Regions from separate parts of the Homo sapiens genome. Here all the other regions are linked to region 1. The links are contacts of gene promoters, found by promoter capture Hi-C in human tissues and cell types (Jung and others, 2019). All regions are on one chromosome and are shown on one strand. The core of a region is centred on a gene start or on the middle of the fragment in contact, and the rest is flanking DNA. Distances in the headings are between cores, read along the strand shown. Region 1 holds the start of DHRS2 (dehydrogenase/reductase 2). Region 2 has its middle 90 kb from the start of LINC00596. Region 3 has its middle 120 kb from the start of LINC00596.

Region 1 (3,545 bases), core at 656-3,155:
TTCTCTGTATTTTTGTCACCTGTTTGCCTTCTTAAGCAATATAGAATTGTTTTACCTGTTGTTGAAACTTGTGGACTCAAATAATATGTATTCTTTTGTGTCTGACTTCTTTTACTCAACAGTATATTTTTTAAGATTCCTTTATGTTGTTCAGTGTGGCTTCAGCTCATTCATTTTCATTATTGTATAGTATTCCATTATAGAAATGCAACACAGTTTGTTTATCCATTCCACCGTTAATAGGCATATAGACTTTGATATGGTTTAGGTCTGTGTCCCTGCCCAAATCTCATGTCGAATTGTAATCCCCAATGTTGGAGGAGGGGGCCTAGTGGAAGGTGATTGGATCATGGGGGCAGATTTCCCCCTTGCTGCTCTTGTGATAGTGAGTGAGTTCTCATGAGATCTGGTTGTTTGGAAGTGTGTAGCACCTCCCCCTTTGCTCTCACTTCCTCCTGCTCCAGCTGTGTAAGTTCTGCCTGCTTCATTTCACCTTCTGCCTTAATTGTAAGTTTCCTGAGGCCTTCCCAGCCATGCTTCCTGTACAGCCTGTGGAATTGTGAGTCAATTAAACCTCTTTTCTTTATAAATTACCCAGTCTCAGGTAGTTCTTTTTTTTTTTGAGACAGGGTCTTGCTCTCTCTCCCAGGCTGGAGTACGGTGGTGCAATCTCAGCCTACCACAGCCTTGACCTCCTGGGCTCAAGCAATCGTCCCATCTTAGTCTCCCGAGTAGCTGTGACTACAGGCATGCACCACCACACCCAGCTAATTTTTATAGAGACATGGTTTCACCTTGTTGCCCAGGCTGGTCTCAAACTCCTGAGCTCAAGGGATCTGCCCACCTTGGCCTTCCAAAGTACTGGGATTACAGGTGTGAGCTACCGTGCCTGGCCTCAGTTAGTTCTTTATAGCAGTGTGAAAACAAACTAATACAGACTTGTTTCCAGTTTGGAACATTCTAAGCAGGCTTCTCTGAACCTGTGTGTACAGTCTCTTGGTGCACACATGACCTCCTGTCTGCAGGATGCAAGTTCCCTCTACAGAGTCAGAGATCTTTATTTTCAACTTCTCCGTATAATGCCAAATCATTTCCCAAAGTGATTGTACTTACCCTCTACCCAGCAGTGAATGAGAGTTTCTGTTGATTTTGCTTTTTCAACTAGAAGTGAGAGGTGACAATATGCTAGCAGCCCTTGCTCACTCTTGGTGCCTCCTCGTCCTCCACATCCACTCTGGCTGCACTTGAGGAGCCCTTCAGCCCACCACTGCACTGTGGGGGCCCCTCTCTGGGGCTGGCCAAGGCCGAAGCCAGCTCCCTCTGCTCGCCAGGAGGTGTGGAGGGAGAGGCGCCGGCAGGAGCCCACACTGTACAGGGCACTCACCGGCCAGCAGGGGCTCCGTGGGCCGGCCGGTGCCAGCTGGGCCTGACTGGGGGATGAGCTCCCTCTGGGCTGCTGGAGTGCCTGGGCTAGGTGCCGCAAAGTCCTGCAGTGTGTGCCATTGAGAGGTGAAGCCGGCTGGGCTTCTGGGTCCGGTGGGGACCTGGAGAACTTTTCTGTCTAGCTAAAGGTTTGTAAATGCACCCATCAGCACTCTGTGTCTAGCTAAAGGTTTGTAAATGCACCAATCAGCAATCTGTGTCTAGCCAATCTGGTGGGGACTTGGAGAACTTTTGTGTCTAGCTAAAGGATTGTAAATGCACCAATCAGCACTCTGTGTCTAGCTAAAGGTTTGTAAATGCACCAATCAGCACTCTGTCAAAACGGACCAATCAGCTCTCTGTAAAACAGACCAATCAGCTCTCTGTAAAATGGACCAATCAGCTCTCCATAAAATGGACCAATCAGCAGGATGTGGGTGTGGCCAGTTAAGGGAATAAAAGCAGGCTGCCTGAGCCGGCAGCAGCAACCTGCTCTGGTTCCCTTCCACGCTGTGGAAGCTTTGTTCTTTTGGTCTTCATGATAAATCTTGCTGCTGCTCACTCGTTGGGTCCGTGCCACCTTTAAGAGCTGTAACACTCACCGCGAAGGTCTGCAACTTCACTCCTGGGGCCAGCAAGACCACGAATGCACCGAGAGGAATGAACAACTCTGGACACACCATCTTTAAGAACCGTAATACTCACCGCAAGGGTCTGCAACTTCATTCTTGAAGTCAGTGAGGCCAAGAACCCATCAATTCCGTACACATTTTGGTGACTTTGAAGAGACTGTCACCTATCACCAAGTGGTGAGACTATTGCCAAGCAGTGAGACTATTGCCAAGTGGTGAGACCATCACCAAGCGGTGAGACTATCACCTATCGCCAAGTGGTGAGTACCATCAGATCCCTTTCATTTGCTATTCTGTCCTATTTTTCCTTAGAATTCGGTGGCTAAATTCTGGGCACCTGTCGGCCAGTTAAAAGTGACTAGCGCAGCCGCTGGACTAAAAACGTGGGTGTCAGGCTTTCTGGGAAAGGGATCTCTAACAACCCCTGGCTCTGTGGAGTTGGGAATGTTGTTTTGCCTGGAACCAGCTTCCGCTTTTCCTGTACTTCTGGGCTGAGCTGAGGGTCAACAGAGAGGAAAGCCATTCAGCTCCGGAGTCCCCACAACAAGTTGGTTGACCCTGCGGCCATGAGCGGAACTCTCAAAGGCATGTTGCCCAAGTGAGACTCACCTATCTATCCTATCTATCCTGACCCTTGCTCGCTGGGTCCTAATGCCTGCCAGACAAACTTTCTCTCTCCTCTCTTCTCCTAGGCTAGTCCCACTTCTAAAAAACCACTCCCTGTCTCTGGTGCTTTTCTAATTTCTCTTATAAGAATGATTTCTAGTAAAAATTTCAGGACTCTGTTACCTTCTTTAGGCACCTGGGCTCACCAATCAGAAAGACATAATTTTTGCCCAAAGCCCAGTTGTAGGGGGAACTATCTGGAATTTTAGAATCCCTCCTCAGATAAGCAGGTCTAACAAAAGCTATTCCTGAAGCTAGGATAGGGGGAGCCTCAGAAATTGTATCCTTCCTATTCATATAAGTGAGGACAAAAGGTGTCACTTTTCCAACCCTGGAGACCCCTTCCCTCCCTCAGGTTACTCTTCTTCATTTTTGGGGCATAACATCTTTATAGGACACGGGTAAGTTCCCAATACTAACAGGAGAATGCTTAGGACTCTAACAGGTTTTCGAGAATGCGTCGGTAAGGGCCACTAAATCCGATTTTTCTCGGTCCTCCTCATGGTCTAGGAGGACAAGCAAGGGTGCAGCACTCTATGTCTAGCTAATCAGGTGGGGACTTGGAGAACTTTTGTGTCTAGCGAAAGGATTGTAAATGCACCAATCAGCACTCTGTGTCTAGCTAAAGGTTTGTAAACACAGCAATCAGCACTCTGTCAAAATGGACCAATCAGCTCTCTATAAAACAGACCAATCAGCTCTCTGTAAAATGGACCAATCAGCAGGATGTGGACAGGGCCAGATAAGGGAATAAAAGCAGGCCACCCGAGCCAGCAGCAGCAACCTGCTTGAGTCCCCTTCCACACTGTGGAAGTTTTGTTCTTT
Region 2 (3,545 bases), core at 266-2,765, 180 kb after region 1:
AAAAAAAGATTAAGCATTGTGGATGTCATTAAGAATATGTGTGATCTTAGGAGGAAGTCAAAATATCAACATTAACAGGAGTTGGGAAGACATTGATTCCCAGCCCTCATGGATGACTTTGAAGGGTTAAAGACTTCAGTGAAGGAAAGCAAGTAATAGCTGATGTGGTGGAAAAAGCAAGAGAACTAGAATTAGAAGTGAAGTCTGAAGATGTGTCTGAATTGTTGCAATCTCCTGATAAAACTTGAACAAATGAGGAGTTGCTTTCTATGAATGAGCAAAGAAAGCAGTTTCTTGAGATGGAATCTACTCCTAGTGAAGATGCTGTGAACATTGCTGAAATGACAACAAAGGAATTAGAATATTACATAAGCTTAGCTGATTAAGCAACAGTAGGGTTTGAGAGTATTGACTCCAATTTTAAAAGAAGTTCTATTGTGAGTAAAATGCTATCAAACAGCATCACATGCTACAGAGGAATCTTTTGTGAAAGGAAGAGTCAATCAATGCAACAAACTTCACTGTTGTCTTAGTGGAAGAAATTGCCACAGCTACCCTAACATTTAGCAACTACCACCCTGATCAGTCAGCTGCCATCAACATTAAGGCAAGACCCTGTACCAGCAAAAAGAGTGTGACTTGATGAATGCTCAGCTGATTGTTAGCATTTTTTAGCAGTGAAGTATTTTTAAATTCAGGTATGTACATTGTTTCTTAGACATGGTGGTACCGCCCACTTACAATACAGTAGAGTGTAAACATAACTTCTGTATGCACTGAGGAACCAAAAAAATTCCCGTGACTTGCTTTATTGTAATATTTGCTTTATTGTAGTGGTCTGGAACTGAACCTACAGTATCTCTGAGGTATGCCTGTACACATACTGGGACTTTGGTTCACTGTTATTTGGTTCCATCATGCTTGCCAGAGCAATGTTTCTCTTTTCTTTTTTCTTTTCTTTTCTCTCTCTTTTTGAGGCAGGGTCTTGCTCTGTTGTCCAGGCTGGAGTGCAGTGGTGCAACTACAGCTTACTGCAGCTTACTTCAACTTCCCAGGCTCTAGCCAACCTCACACCTCAGCCTCTTGAGTAGCTGGGACTACAGGCATATGCCATCATGCCTGTCTATTTTTTTTTTTTTTTGAGATGGAGTCTCACTCTGTCACCTGCACTGGAGTGCAGTGGTGCCATCTTAGCTCACTGCAACCTCTGCCTCCAGGGTTCAAGCAATTTTCTGCCTCAGCGTCCTGAGTAGCTGGGACTACAGGCACCGCCACCGTGCCTGGCTAGGTTTTTTTTTGTTTTTTTTGTTTGTTTGTTTTGTTTTGTTTTGTTTTGTTTTTGTATTTTTAGTAGAGATGGGGTTTCACCACCTTGGCCAGGCTGGTCTTGAACTCCTGACCTCGTGATCCACCTGCCTCGGCCTCCCAAAGTGCTGGGATTACAGATGTGAGCCATCATGCCCGGCACCTGGCTAATTTTTTACTTTTATTTTTTGTAGAGATAGGGTCTCACTGTCCTGCTAGGGCTAGTCTGAAACTCCTGGCCTCAAGTGATCCTCCCACCTTGGCCTCCCAAAGTGCTGGGATTACAGGTGTGAGCCATCATGTCCAGCCAAAAGTAATGTTTCTAGTCTTTTGAAGATTTCCTTTCCATTTTGGACAATTTTGCTCTAAAGAAGTTTTATTCCTAAAGAGTCATTTGGGAGATATTATTTAGGAGTCAACTAAGAAAAGAGCAGTTTATTTCAGGAATACAGAGTATGCACAAATTTGGCAGGTTATAAATATATAGGTTCATACTTTTCTGTGGGCATAACACTGCTTAAAAGCATTATTGGTTCATTTTATTCAGTTCAAATCACTTCAACGTTCTGGCTCTTACTCTCATATAATCCTTGAGATTGCTCTGACCCTTTCCCACAAGTTCATTCTTATATTCCTCTAAAAACAGGATACCTCAATAAAGAATCAGAGACTCTCTGGTGTGGAACTGTCTTTGGATTATCTACTTAAAACCTGTCGGAGGTTCATTCCCTCTGCAACCTTACAGCAAAGTAGACCTTCCATCCTCTCTTGAAAAGCTCTCGTGACATGGGAAATTCCTATTACCCATGGCTATATTTCCTCTTTGGGGATTTGAAAACATCTTTTTTTTATTTTTTATTTTTTTATTATACTTTAAGTTCTAGGGTACATGTGCACAATGTGCAGGTTTGTTACATATGTATACATGTGCCATGTTGGTGTGCTGCACCCATTAACTCATCATTTAACATCAGGTATATCTCCTAATGCTATCCCTCCCCGCTCCCCCTACCCCACAACAGGCCCCATGAGTTCATGTCCTTTGTAGGGACATGGATGAAGCTGGAAACCATCATTCTCAGCAAACTATCACAAGGAAAATATCTTTTTAATAGGAGCAGAAACCTTTCTCCATATACAGCTTCTTCCCATTGGTATTAGATGCATCCCTTGTACTTACATCATTGAGCATTATTATTATTATTATTATTATTATTATTATTATTATTATTGAGAGAGAGTCTCTGTCACCCAGGTTGGAGTGCAGTGGTGTGATCTTGCCTCCCGGGTTCAAGTAATTCTCCTGCCGCAGCCTCCTGAGTAGCTGGGATTACAGGTGCGTGCCACCACACCCAGATAATTTTTGTATTTTTAGTAGAGACAGGGTTTCACCATGTTGGTCAGGCTGGTCTCCAACTCCTGACCTCATGATCCGCCCGCCTCGGCCTCCCAAAGTGCTGGGATTACAGGCATGACCCACCGTGCCCAGCCAACATTGAGCATTATTGAGCAAGTCAATTTTCTCTTCTCTATGACAGCCCTTCAAACCATGAAACAGGTTATGTTATCTTCACCTATCCCAGTTTTGCCTGGCCTTCTCTCTGCTAAGCATTCCCAGTTCCCTCTCAATCACTTTTGGTCATCAGACAAGAAACATCTCCCAGAGTCATTTTATTTATTTTCTCAATTTCTGTAAAGTGTCTTATAAATACAGTTTTAGGCCCCTCCACTACCATTCACCCACAGCAAGGCAGTGTGCAGCTCCCAAACTAGTCCTGATTGCAAATTCTGGAGCCACTGAGGATAGATCATCAAGACCTTTACTAGGTTCTTCATACAATTATTACTAATAAAGGTAAATTTACCTAATGCTTAATATGTCATTTAATCATCAGACACATATCATTTAATCATCAATTTATAGATGACAAAAAAATTGAGACTTTAACTTTACCAAAGTCACTCACATAGTAAGCAATAGAGAGAAGATTTGAATCCAGTCCACCAATTCCAAAGCCCATGTTCTTAATATTAAGCTATACACCAAATTGAGGCACGACTCCTGCTTTTTCCCTCCCTCTAAATTTTTTACACTTCTAGTATTCAGCATGACAGAATTGATGCTTCTTTTCTCAAAACCCAATTCCAGAGTCCACCAGACTCCACCCACTCTCAGATGGTTAACACAAACCCTCACTGTCTCGCAACCTCAGCTGGGCCAGGAAGCATCATCATCTGGA
Region 3 (3,545 bases), core at 575-3,074, 140 kb after region 1:
TATGACTGAGAAGAATCCATTCACAATTGCAACAACAAAACAGTAAAATGTTCAGGAGTAAATGTAAATTGAAAATAAATGTATAAAATCTGTAAAGAAAAGTGTTCAACATTGCTGAAGGACAAAGAAGAAAACTTGATTATGGAGAGTGATATACCATATTCATTGATGAGAAAACTCAATGTTGTCAACATGTCAACTTTCCTCAAAATAGATTTTTAAATTTAAAGACAGTCCATAAAAATCTTCTACATTTGAAATTATGGAAATTTAAAATCTACATAAAAGATGAAAAATAGTGCAATAAGCACTTGTATAGCCCTCACTGCAATTTATTTGGTTGGTGCAAAAGAAATTGCAATTTTGCCATTAGTTGCACTAACCTAATATCAACTGTTAACATCCTGCTACTTTTACTTCATCTCATACACTTTTGTTTTCTGTGCTATTTGAATGTCAGTTGCAGACATCCATTGCACTTTACCCCTAACCACATCAACATGCATTTTCTAAGAATTAAGGCATTTTGACACAGTTTCACACTTGAGACAATTAACAATTGTATAATACCACAGAAAATGGTGCTTGTCAGACTTTATTAAGCATGCAAGTCACCTGAGGATCTTGTCAAAATGCAGATTCTGATTCAGTAGGTCTGTGATGAGGGCTGATGTTCTACCTTTCTAACAAGCTCCAAGGTTATGGTGATGCTGTTGGTCTGCGGACCACACTTTGAATTGCAAGAATCTGCTAAACATTCCAAATGCAGTTTTCTCAAATGAGCACTCAAATGGCTTTTGGTAGCTGTTATTTTTCAATTCAGGATCCAGTCAAGTTTGACACATCACAGTTGATTGCTGTGCATCACCAGTCTTCAGAAATCTAAAATGGTCATTCGTTTTTTTATTCTTTTAAAATTTTTTCTTATTTTTTTAAATAAACATTTTAAGACATATGCTGTTGTTGTTGTTGTTGCCCAGGCTAGAGTGCACTCACTACAGCCTCAAACTCCTGAGCTCAAATGATCCTTTCCCCTCAACCCCTTAGTAGCTAGTTCTCCCTGACTCATTTTTAATTTTTTTTTTTTTTTTTTTTTTTGTAGAAATGGGTTCTTGCTATGTTGCCCAGGCTGGTCTCAAACTCCTGAGCTCAAGCAATTCTCCCATCTCTGCCTCTCAAATTACTGGGATTACAGGCATGAGCCATCGCATCCAGCCTTTTTTTTTTTTTTTTTTTTTTTAAGAGGACAGGCCAGGTTTTAGCAGAATGACCCCTAGTTTTTATTTCTTTGATGGTTTATTAATAATTACATTCAGGTTAAATTGTTTGTCAAGAACATGACACAGTTGATGTTATGCACTGGCTACTGCAACACAGCAGGACACAAGCATGCCAGATGTTGCTCTATTGTTTTGTATTTTTTACTTTAAAAAACTATCAGATTAGATTTACATTTACAGAAAAGTTGCAGAGTGAGTACGGTGAATTTTCATATACCTCACCCTGAGTTTCACCTATTGTTAACACCTTACACTAGTATGGTAACTTTGTCACAATTGATCAACCAACACTGATACATTGTTATTAACTGAAGCCCATACTTTGGCTAATCAGATTTTCTTAGCTTTAATCTAATGTCTTTTTCTGCTCCAGAATTCCATCCACGATACCACATTATATCTCCTTAGACTCCTCCTGGCTGTGACAGTTTCTCAGACTTTCCTTGGTTTTGATGACATTGATATTTTCCAGAAGAACTTGTCGGGTATTTTGTCAAATGTCCTCAGTTGTGATTTGTTTGATGTTTTCTCACAATTAGATAATTTTCATTTGTGTATGTCACTTAAGGTTTTTTACTGGCCAATTTCTTCTCTTTTTTCTTTCTTTGTTCTAACTCTGGTTTTATTTTATTAGAGCCTCATTGCATGTAGTTTGTCCATATCAGCATGTATAATCTGTAATTCTTTCAAATCTGCAAGTAGCTTTCTTTATATTATGAAATGGTTTAAACATAAAGTACAGAAAGTGACATAACGAACAGCCAGGTACCACATCCCAGCTTAAAAAATTAAACATTACATATAGAATTGATTCCCTCTATTCTACCTTTCCAGCTTCTCCCCTTTCTTTCTCTAAAGATGAAACCCTTAACCTAAATTTGGTAGAGGTTATTCCTATGCCAGTCTTCATACCTTGTTACATATATGTATCCCTTAACTATATATAGTATTTTCCATATATTTAAACTTTATGTATGATAGCACATTGAACATATTCTTGGGCAACTTGCTATCTTTGTTCAACATTATGTGAGGTTTATTCTGTAGATACATGTAGTTCTGATCCATTTATTTTAATTTCAGTAAACATAAAAGAGAAAAAAGAGAGATGATTAAAAAACATTATGTATTAATGCCCATTTGTGAACTTAGTATTTCTATGTGGTATGCTTGGGTTTAATCTTAATTATTTTATTCACTGTGTATTTATTGAGGACCCACTATCAGCCAGATAGTGTGCAAGGCACTAGAGACACAATGATGAGCAAAACAGACTAAGTCGTCTGCTCTCAAGAAGCTTACAGTCTGGTTGTAAAGTAAGGGTCAGACATGAGTCAAGTGCTCACACTCATTTATTAATTACAAACTGTGATGATTGAGGTCTCCTCCAGTTAGGGAAGCAGACCTAAGAGTCTGGGGAGACTGGAGCAGCTAGAATTTGCAGGACAGAGGACTGGAGAGGAAGGAGCTGCAGGGAGATGTTCACAGGTTTACAGAAGGTTCCTCTCGAGTAGTCAGAAGAGTACTGATCAGCACACATATGTGAGGAAACCAACCAAGGCCAAGGAAAGAACCATAAGAAAGGTGGCAGGGTGCTCCCACAGGGCCAGGAATAGTGCCTCTTCCCACAAGCCAGACTGAAAAACCTCATAATTCATAAAGCACTGGGCTTAGTGCTCAGAGTAGTCTTCCCTTAGGAGTGGAGAATAATTATCTCTAGAATGAGCCCTGCTCTGAACCCATTTAATAGACTTTAGGCAAGGATCAAACTGTTCCCTAGTAACTTAACTGCACCCCAGAACAGAAATAAAAAATATTAATAGGAATACTAAAATATCCAGCATCTAACAAGATACAATTCACAACTTCTGGCTTCCAATTAAAAAATGTAAGGCATACAAAGGAGCAGGAAAATACAATCATAATAAGGATAAAAATAAATCAAGCAAAATGAACACAGAACTGAGATGTTTGAATTAGCAGAAAAGAACATTAAAACAGGTGTTACAGCTGTATTGCATATGCTCAAAAGTTATGTAGAGACATGAAAGATTTTTTTTTAAATCCAAATTGAGGTACTAGAAATGAAAACTGCAGTGCATAAGATAAAAAATACACTGAATGGGATTCACAACAGGTTAAACACTGCAGTAGAAAGAAAATAGTTAATTTGAAGATGTAGCAATAGAAATTATGCAAACGGAACACACACAAAAAAATTTAAGAAATGGACAAACCATCAGTGAGCTGTGGGACAACTTCAAG

What was found. Contacts are between HindIII fragments. The study calls those that stand out against the background at their distance.
Region 2: a fragment that was not itself captured here is called in contact with the fragment with the promoter of DHRS2 in region 1 in 2 of the 25 tissues and cell types used here (mesenchymal stem cells and ovary).
Region 3: a fragment that was not itself captured here is called in contact with the fragment with the promoter of DHRS2 in region 1 in 1 of the 25 tissues and cell types used here (lymphoblastoid cells).

What each region holds. Positions count from the first base shown.
Region 1 is chr14:23,634,459-23,638,003 of GRCh38, forward strand. DHRS2 (dehydrogenase/reductase 2) reads left to right here and starts at 1,906. Exons shown (of 9, transcript NM_005794.4): 1 at 1,906-2,314. The HindIII fragment of the contact is 10,677 bases long and covers 1-3,545 here.
Region 2 is chr14:23,810,923-23,814,467 of GRCh38, forward strand. No RefSeq gene overlaps it. Among named protein-coding and RNA genes, the nearest start is that of LINC00596, 90 kb to the right of the region's middle. The HindIII fragment of the contact is 9,196 bases long and covers 1-3,545 here.
Region 3 is chr14:23,777,822-23,781,366 of GRCh38, forward strand. No RefSeq gene overlaps it. Among named protein-coding and RNA genes, the nearest start is that of LINC00596, 120 kb to the right of the region's middle. The HindIII fragment of the contact is 4,786 bases long and covers 1-3,545 here.